Linked DNA regions of Homo sapiens: region 1 is linked to region 2. Evidence: promoter capture Hi-C in 16 types of primary human blood cells and fetal thymus (Javierre and others, 2016). All regions are on one chromosome and are shown on one strand. The core of a region is centred on a gene start or on the middle of the fragment in contact, and the rest is flanking DNA. Distances in the headings are between cores, read along the strand shown.

Evidence for each region. The method cuts DNA at HindIII sites, captures the fragments that hold promoters and counts their contacts. A CHiCAGO score of 5 or more calls a contact.
Region 1: a fragment that was not itself captured here is called in contact with the fragment with the promoter of PODXL in region 2 in 1 of 17 cell types (endothelial precursors); the score reaches 5.1 in endothelial precursors.

What each region holds. Positions count from the first base shown.
Region 1 is chr7:131,635,346-131,640,302 of GRCh38, reverse strand. No RefSeq gene overlaps it. Among named protein-coding and RNA genes, the nearest start is that of PODXL, 81 kb to the right of the region's middle. RefSeq lists an enhancer at 1,414-2,010. The HindIII fragment of the contact is 7,477 bases long and covers 1-4,957 here.
Region 2 is chr7:131,554,667-131,559,494 of GRCh38, reverse strand. PODXL (podocalyxin like) reads left to right here and starts at 2,867. Exons shown (of 9, transcript NM_001018111.3): 1 at 2,867-3,235. The coding sequence starts at 3,136. RefSeq lists an enhancer at 1,932-2,479 and silencers at 2,447-2,566, 2,597-2,656, 2,737-3,246. The HindIII fragment of the contact is 4,965 bases long and covers 1,242-4,828 here.

The sequences.
Region 1 (4,957 bases), core at 355-2,854, 82 kb before region 2:
GCCTGGCCTAATGTTTGTATTTTTAGTAGGGTTTCACCATGTTGGCCAGGATGGTCTCGATCTCTTGACCTCGTGATCCGCCTGCCTCAGCCTCCCAAAGTGCCAGTATTACAGGCACGAGCCACCATGCCCAGCCTCCACCAGCAATTTTCTATCTATAGGTCCTATTCTTTGTATCAGTCAGTGCCCAGCAGAAAACAAATAGCACACTCTAACTAGGATGATTGCAGGAAAGATTTTTTTTCGAGATGGAGTCTCACTCTGTCGCCCAGGCTGGAGTGCAGTGGCATGATCTCGGCTCACTGCAACCTCCACCTCTCGGGTTCAAGCAATTCTCCTGCCTCAGCCTCCCAAGTAGCTGGGACTACAGGTGCGCACCACCACACCCGGCTAATTTTTGTATTTTTAGTAGGGTTTCACCATGTGGGCCAGGATGGTCTCGATCTCTTGACCTTGTGATCCGCCTGCCTTGGCCTCCCAAAGTGCAGGGATTACCTGGCTAATTTTTGTATTTTTTAGTGGAGACAGGGTTTCACCATGTTTCCCAGGCTGGTCTTGAGCTCCCAACCTCAACTGATCTGCCCGCTTTTGCCTCCCAGAGTGTGGGATTACAGGCCTGATGAGCCACTGTGCCTGGCCTATTGTAGGAGAGTTTTAAAAAGAAAGGGGCTGTTTACACAGGGCAGATTGAAGAGGAACCAGAAGAGACAGGGCTATACCCCAGGGCTGGAACAAGGCACCTATTCCCCCTTTGAACTGAAGGAACTAGGAAAAGGTTTACCACTAGTCCTGGAGAAGAGGGAAAATAGGACACTTGGACAGAAGGCACAGCTGTCCCTTCAGGGATCCCCAGAGAGGGAGCGGGAAAAATAAATCCCCAAAGCATCTTCCTCTATCCCACTGATCTTTTGCCAGAGCTTCCTGCTGGCCAAACGGAGGGCAACGGAGGCCCCAGTGTAGTCTGCACGAAATGCAGACAGGGGTGGGGCTAGGCCCCCAGGGGCAAACAGGTGATATCTGACACATTCTCCAAACTTCAGGAAGCTCCCAGGCGCAAGAGGTGTTTGTTCTGCACCTGGCATCAGCCTCGCTCAGAATGCACCTTGAGAGTGTTCTGGCTGAATTAGTGACCATCATGTTCCTTCTCAAGGTTGCTCCTAGCCCTCCTCAGGGACAGACTCATTCAAAGCAAAGGAGATCTGCAGACGGAGACCAAAAGCCTGGAACTCTGGAGAGAGCTGGCCTGAACTGGACTTTAGGACAGGAAGGCAGTGTCTCTGCACCTCAGTGACTTGACCTGTTAAAAATAAAACCAATTAAGAATCAGAGGATTGTTACAAGGATAAAGAGATATTTTACAAAGCATGTAGAGGTGTGTCTGTCAGATAACAACACTGGATACTCAATACATGTTAATTGTCACTGTTGTTTGCTGAACTCCCACTGTCTGCAGAGCAATAGGCCCTGGCCCCAGCTCTGATAAGATCCCCCTCAGGCAGAGCTGGCTTTCCTCGGAATCCATTTCCACCATCTTCCCTTCCTCTTCCCAGCGGCTAACATGGAATCCATTTCCACCATCTTCCCTTCCTCTTCCCACCGGCTAACATCTCGGGGTACAATGTTCTGTACCTTCTGGGCCTGAGAGGTGATGGGAGGTGCAGCTGCTTCCTGCAGGTGCCGCTGCTGATACAGACCCTGACACAGATCCTGAGGCTGACGAGGGGCCTGCCCACCCAATGCCAAGACCCAGGGTTGGCCTCACAGATACATCGGGATTTGCAGTCTTTGTCCCTAATCCACCTAGTAGACGCTCTGGGTTTGGGTTTTCCACCCAAGACTGGCCAAGACCTGACTGTGGAGTCCTGGGACCACCGTGTTCCCTTTCTAGGGGAGCCAATGTTTCTCTCTCCAACACCGAGCCCATCACCTGGCTTGTAAACATCTAGAGAGGGAGGCTGGGGAATGGGACCACTGGGATTCCAGGGATCCTCACCAACACGATTCAACATAATTCCCAAGTTGTACCAGGAACGTGGGAGCCCACAAGTCCGCCTGAAGTTTCTCTAAACATCAGGGTCTCGGGTACGAGGCGGCTCCAGCCACAGCCCCCAGCCAGGGGCTGGCAAGGCGTGCAGGGCTTTGCCCTTTATCATCATGTCAGCCCAGCCAGGAAGCTCCCCCGCCCTGCTCATCAGCACCATAAACAGGGCCCAGAGCAGGAGAGGTGGGGGTGGAGGTGGGGGGATGATGGACTGCTCTCTCCGCAGCAGTCAATTAAGAAGGAAGTTTAAGTTAAAAGGGCCATTGTGTTATTCCACTTATGAGAGGAATGTGGCCTGGGGTGGTGGTACCTGCTCTCACGGCTCTGGTGCTCTCCCTGTGATGGTGATAAGGGGGCTTTGGGGGAGTGAGGCTCTGTCTCCTGGAAGTGCTCACCCTGAGCTGCCTGCAGGGCCCACAGCAGGGTATCCCAGTCAGCAGGTTCATCCAGGACCCCAAACCCCACAGCAGGTCCCCCAGGCCTCTCTGGCACATCCTCTTTTGTCCGCTCTGTGTCCTATTCTCCACCCTCTGAGATGACCAAGTCCATCTGCTCCCAGACCTACGCAGATGTGGCCATGTGAGCCAGGTAGTTTGAATAGGGGGCTACACTCCATCAGCATCAGGGCCCACGCCAGTGTAAACGCCCAGGACTGGGAAGACACTTGAGGGCACTAGAGAAATAATACTCTCACCAGCTGGCTGATACTCACAATTTCACCCTTAGACATTCATGTCTTCGACTTAAAACTCCCTATCTTCAGGAGTCCTCATGTACTCCTACCACCCCCTTCCCTTTAGGCGCTCACATGTTCATTCCAATGGCAACTTTCCAGAGACAGTGGCCTTGCTCTGGTTGTCCACCTTGGAGGACACAAGTCCTGGTACCAAGAGGGCCATGGCCTGCCAGTGAGGAGATGCTGCTGAGGACTGGCCCCTCTGAGACCAAATGGCTCAGTAGAAAGGGCAGTAGCCCAAGAGTCAGGAGTCCTAAGCTGTGTGAGCTTCAGCAGGTCATTTACTCTCTCCAGGTGGCAGTTTTCCCAACTCTAAAATGAGGGGATGGGAGCAGATGTCCTCTAGCTTCCTCCCTGCTCTAGAATGCTCGGCTGGGCATGGGCCTGACCCTCAAAGACAAAGAAAAGCCCCAGCCCAGGCATGCCCTGTGGTGGCTGAAGGCAGCTCAAGTTTAAAGTTTTCAGCAGATGCTTCCAGGCATCCCTTCTGCCTCTTTTCTCCCATCCTCAGGCTCCTCCATGGGCCCCAACTCTTGGGTCTCCATGTATCCTTCTGGACCATGCTGATGTTGCCACACACTCACACCAAGCAGGTCTTCCAGCCTTCTGAGTTTGCATAAAAGCAAGGTCCTGGACCAGGCACAGTGGCTCACACCTGTAATCCCAGCACTTTGGGAGGCCAAGGCAGGTGGAATGCTTGAGTCCAGAAGTTCCAGACCAGCCTGGGCAACATGGTGAAACCCTGTCTCTACAAAAAATACAAAAATTAGCTGGGCATGGTGGCACATGCGTGTAGTCCCAGCTACTCAGGAGGCTGAGGCAGGAGGATTGCTTGTGGCCAGAAGGTTGAGGCTGCAGTGAGCCAAGATTGCACCACTGCACTCCAGCCTGGGTGACAGAGTGAGAACCTGTCTCAAAAAATAAAAAATAAAAAGAAAGGTCCTTTGGCACGAGAGTCTGTCCTTTGACCTTAGGTTGAACACGACTTTTCCAGGATCTACCTGTAACTCCAATTCTGTAGCATCGTGGAATGGCGCCTGAGCAAGGCCCAGAGTGGAGATTCCATGCCTATCTGTGGCTCCTTTCCTCAGCTCTGCTCTTGCCTCTCTCCTGCACCCACCCTGGGCCTGCTCCCAGGCCTTCCTCGCAGCCCTTCCTCTTGCTTCTGTGTGCAGCTTGGCCCTCCTATCTCCGGACCACCTCCTGTGCTGGCGCGGGGAGCGCATTTCCCACGTACTCCTTGGCGATCGTCATCTTCCCTTCTGGTAGTTCACGATCACATTAGTGAGGACAGAGGCCAAGACCAACAATTACAGCAGCACTGGATCCCTTAGTGGAAATTGTCATGCTATTCCACACCCGTGTCACACCCTGACTTAAAGGAAAGAAAGAGGCCAACCCAAAACCTTCGTACGCTTTCTGCATGAAAAGTTTGCATGAGAGGCTGGGTTCAATAGCTCACGCCTGTAATCCCAGCACTTCGGGAGGCCGAGGCGGGCAGATCACAAGGTCAGGAGATGGGGACCATCCTGGCTAACATGGTGAAACCCCGTCTCTGCTAAAAATACAAAAAATTAGCTAGGTGTGGTGGCACGTGCCTGTAGTCCCAGCTACTCAGGAGGCCGAGGCAGGAAAATCGGTTGAACCTGGTAGGCAGAGGTTGCAGTGAGCTGAGATCGCCTCACTGCACTCCAGCCTGGAAGACAGAGTGAGACTCCGTCTCAAAAAAAAAAAAAAAAAAAAAAAGTTTGCATGAGAGTCCTTGGGTAGAAGAACATCAAGGCCCTCATGCACCCCCTTCCAGAGGTAGCTGCCAACACCTCAAACCTCAGGGCGTCCCAAGAGTCCCTCCCTGCAGATAAAACACTTAAAGCCAACATTAACCATTTCTCAGTCACATATGGCCTGTCCCAGGAGAGCTCTTTAATCTATAGTCACCTTGGTAAAGGGGAGGTCACAGAGCTCTTTTGCCTCAAAGACTTCCCTGGTCTTGGCATGTCCTAGGTTGTTGTCTTGTCCCTTCACCCCAAGTCGGGGTGAGGACCAAAGGGATGGTCATTCAGTGGAGGGAGGGGTGAGCAAGGCTGATGTCTATTTCTCTACCAAGTTGAAGCATGGCGGTGGAGGAGTCAGATGCCTGGACCAGGGACGGTTGGCAGGAGGGAAGAATGAGGATGCCC
Region 2 (4,828 bases), core at 1,618-4,117:
TTTTGCAAATAAAGCCGCTGCTTTTTCCAAAGCTAGTGCTTCATAGTATTGGCTTCTGTGCCCATGGGGCAGCAAAACCATTTGCTTGATAAAAATGCGGTGGCTCTCGCCAGTAATCCCAGCACTTTGGGAGGCCGAGGCGGGCAGATCACCTGAGGTCGGGAGTTCGAGACCAGCCTGACCAACATGGAGAAACCCCGTCTCTACTAAAAATACAAAATTAGCCGGGTGTGGTGGCAGATGCCTGTAATCCTAGCTACTTAGGAGGCTGAGGCAGGAGAATTGCTTGAACCTGGGAGGCGGAGGCAGCCTGGGCAACAGGAGCAAGACTCTGTCTCAAAAAAAAAAAAAAAAAAAAAAAAGTGATGTGCTGTTCTTGGTGGTCTGAGTAAGTAAAGGATGAATAAGAAAGACGCCATGTTAAAGAAGCTGAATGTCTGCTAGGAGAGCTAACGCATGTATACAAATAACCAAAATGCAACAAATCCCAGAAGGAATGATCCTGCAGAAACTTCCTGATGAAAAGCTTCAAAAACAGCACCCATAAAGTGCTTTGGGTTTCAAATATAAGCTCAGGTGTTCTGGGCTGGCGAGCTTGCTAGTTAGAGCACAATGCTAAATGGGGCCAAAGGCACAGGCCAGTTACCTGGGGGTAGCTCATCTCAGTGGCCACCAGTGACCTCAAAACCCAGCCAGCCTCATTCCAGAAAGCCACGTTGTGCATAAGTTGAGGGGGGCTGTTGGATACTGGGGAGAGTCCAGCACAATTGTAACTTTTCTATGTCTTCTCTAAGCCCAGATGTCTGCTCTCATTTTAATTTTGCATGATCTTGTAATGGCACCAATCCCAAATCATGTGAATTTAAAATGCCCTAAGCTTCAAAATATACGCTCTCTCTTTATAAAGTTAACATGATTGCTTCTGAGTTTTTAGATAAATTGAATGATTGAGTGCAAAAACACTGTTTAAATCAGAGTGCGATACACATTTTTTAAAATCCCAGTGTAAAAAAAAATATATATATATATTGCTTGGTTTCAGAAGAGAAACAAGCCTTTTGTTGACATGATATCAGGGGAACAGTACTAAAAAAACATCAAAGATAGTCACACACACAAATATCCCAGAGTATTCATAGGGAACACCCTCTGTCTTTCCCATATGCGGTGTGGAAAACGGGGCCAGAACGATCCTGCAGAAACTTCCTGATGAAAACAACCCCGTCAGCCCTTCCCAAGCTTGAGGCCGGCTGCCACGGAACCCCAGCCAGGGCTCCAGCGCTTCCTTCGCGGCTCCAGGGACGCAGTGCCCTGCAGGCATCGCCTGCTTGCAGCCGACTTGAGGGGCTCACGGAGTCCCCTGTGCCCGGGACGCGGCTAGATCCTGGAGAAAACCCCTCCACCCAGCCCCATCTGGCAGATAGACTCCAGATTAGCAACCCCGGAGTCACGTGAGCCAAATTTACGCCGTACCCGGGTTCCAAGGTTAATCACCCCTCGCCCCCTCCGCTTCCCGGCTCCGCCGATGTGCCTCCTCTTCAGGCGGGCCTGGGGTCTGCGTCTCCCAGGCAGCTTTGGGGGTGGAAAAAAGGAGGGGAGCGGGGGAGGGGAAAGGAACTTCTTTGTTCTTTCACCGGATAAACTCAGTTTACGGAATTCTCCAACACCCACTCCCACCCCCAGTGTGCAAATATCTCTGATCCTCACTTGGAGGGCGAACTACTTCATTCATTGAGACTTTTGTGTTCCTGGCCCTAGGCTAAGTATTATCTTGTAAGATCACATTTAAGTTTCCCAACAACCCCCTGAGGTAGGTGTTATTATCCCTATTTTACAGATAAAAAGAAATGAGGTACTGAGAATAGCTTGCCTAGGGTTTTACAATTAATAGATTGGCACAGTTAGGTTTTGAGCCCCAGCCTGTTTTGACCCAAAAGCCCTAATCTTTATAGCTGTTCTTTATATAGCAGGAATAAGAGTAATAACCACTCCTTGCAGAGCAATTACTATATTCCAGGCACGGTGCACGGTATTTCTCCAAACTTCTCTCAGAGGCAGGTTTGCCACTTACCCGTTATGTGGCCTCAGGAAGTTTCTTAACCTCTTTTTGACTCAATTGCCCTGTCTGCAAAATGAGGCTAAAAATATGGTTGTCATGAAGAGTAAAAGAATTAATATATGTAAAGCCTGGCACACATTCATCCCTGAAATTGTTGTTGCTGTTGTTTTTTAACCATCATCTCCATTTCACAGGTAAGGAACCTACCCTTGGAGAGGTGAAGGAGTGAATTAGTCCAGCTTGCCCGCTGCACACCTAGCTGCAGAGAGACCCCGCTCAGAAGCCGTGCGGGATGGGGGCCCCACAGGCAGGTGAATTGCACTTGGCAGGTGGGAGATGAGCTTCTCCGGGGTCGCTGCAGAACGCGCAGCAGCCCGGGAGGCCGTGAATGGTTATCAGTTACCACGCAAGGCTGGGGGTCCGCCCGCTCCGGATTTGCTCGTAGTGCGAGGGCCCCGGCGGTGTGCTGGGGGATCCCGCCGGGCCCACTTAGAAGCACTCGGGGGGACACACCTGTTCGGGACACCTGTGGACGGGGCCCGGCTGCACCGCAGGAGCCCCCCGCCCTGGCCCCCGCGCACACACAGCCCCCCAAGGCGCGGAGGCCGCCGGCCCTCCCGCCCGTCGCGCTCCAGGGCGGAGTTTCCTCCTCTGCTCATTGTTCACGGCCCAGCGCCCGCCCAGCCCCGGCCCCGGCCCCGCCCGGCCCGGCCGCCGCCGCTGGCGGGCTCCTGGGGGAGGGGGAGGGGCGGGGGCGGGGGCGGGGGCCGGCGCTGACGGGACGGGCCAGGAGTAGCCGCAGCCGCCAGTGGGGCCGCAGCCGCGCAGACGCCGCCCAGGACGCAGCCGCCGCCGCCGCCGCTCCTCTGCCACTGGCTCTGCGCCCCAGCCCGGCTCTGCTGCAGCGGCAGGGAGGAAGAGCCGCCGCAGCGCGACTCGGGAGCCCCGGGCCACAGCCTGGCCTCCGGAGCCACCCACAGGCCTCCCCGGGCGGCGCCCACGCTCCTACCGCCCGGACGCGCGGATCCTCCGCCGGCACCGCAGCCACCTGCTCCCGGCCCAGAGGCGACGACACGATGCGCTGCGCGCTGGCGCTCTCGGCGCTGCTGCTACTGTTGTCAACGCCGCCGCTGCTGCCGTCGTCGCCGTCGCCGTCGCCGTCGCCCTCCCAGAATGGTGAGTGGCCGGCCTGGGTTCCGCCGGGACTCCCACCGTGCCCATGTGCCCCCTGCCCGGCCGAGCTGCAGGGAAGCCCGGCGCGCCGCGTGGTCCGACCCCGAGCAGCCCTATCACCGCCGGGGTCACACACGGAGCCCTGACCTTGCACCATCCACGCCCCCTCCAAACTCCGCAGCGCGGCAGGTGCAGGGCCTGGGCGTAGATTCGTCTCCACTCTCCACTCGGGAGGAGTGGGCGGTGGATTCTGCCCGGGCAAACAGGGGCGCGCCGGTGCTAAGTGGGTTTGCATGGGAAAGAAAAGGGAGACCGCACCGCGAGGCTCCACGCTTCTGCGGGACTCTCGGGATCTGATTACACCTTTCCTTCGTGTTGGAGGGAATGAGGGGCTGTAGTGTGTATTCGTTAATTCCAGGCAAAGAGGCAGGCGAGAGGCTCCCGAGGAAGTCCCTGAAGCAGGTGACAAGCCTCCAGCCACGGCCCACGCGGGCGATGTACTTACCCGTTTGCAGAGGTTTTTTCTAAGTAATGTGTGCAGGCTCAACTCCTTGAGCCCGTGCTGGGGCAGGTACAGAGTCGTAAGTGGACCTTCCACAGTCCCAGAGTCACCTGGCTGAGTGGGGGTCCTACCTCCGTGTCCCTAAAACAATCGCTTCTTAGTGCGTGGCTACGATGGTGAGACCCCCCTCGAATCCTCTTGTTCAAACGGGAACTTGTTCAAACGGGAACTTCTCTCTCGTAGAATAGGATTGGGCTGCATTTTAGACACACCTTAGAAAATGTACCTGTCTCTCATGAAACACCTGCACCTCAGAAACATCCCCTCCCTGTTTCTTTTCAAGGTGAAATGTTACTCTTTCCCTTTTGGGGGACAGGCGATGGCTGCAAACTCAACCAGAACAGGTGTTCTTAAGCCCCTAGGGAACAGCCAGAGTCAGCTCAGCCCCACGGGAGAGGTGCATTTCTCATTCTCTTTTGCCCACCTGAGCACATGTCTGCAGGAAGAGCTGAGGTGGTGTGATCACCCTAGGGCCAGGAGGACTGCGGGGACAGCACAGACAGGGTAGGGATTCTGCTGTGAGCAGGTGCCGGCAGTTTGGGACTGGACTCTAAGGGGCCAGGGGAGATGGAAGGGCAGTACAGTCTCTCCTCTGCACCGCAGGAAACCTTTGGTAGTGGGCAGGCGCTGGCACTCAGGGAGCAGGCAGGCGTGGGCATCCTCCTGTGGCCGGCGGGAGACTCCACCAGCCTGACTAGAAAGGGAAGGTCCCGGCGGGGGGAAGAATGTGTGTCCCTGGAAGAGGGGCTGCAGTGTGAGGAACAGTCAGAACAGCTTTCAGAGTGGCAATCACTGAAGAGCCACACGACATGCAGGGTTGAGATGACACGAGAGTATGGTGGCTCCTTAGCCCTACTCTGGGGACAGCTGGACTTCAGGGTGGGCCTTCATACGAACCTTTTGTTGGGAAGCCTCTTAGAACCACCCAGAAGGGCGTTGGGCTGTGTCAGGAAAGAGGGGTTAGTCCCTAGTGCTTCTGAGCTTAAGGAAGCTGAGCCACCCTTCCTTTGAGGAGTGGGAGGCACTGTGGGACA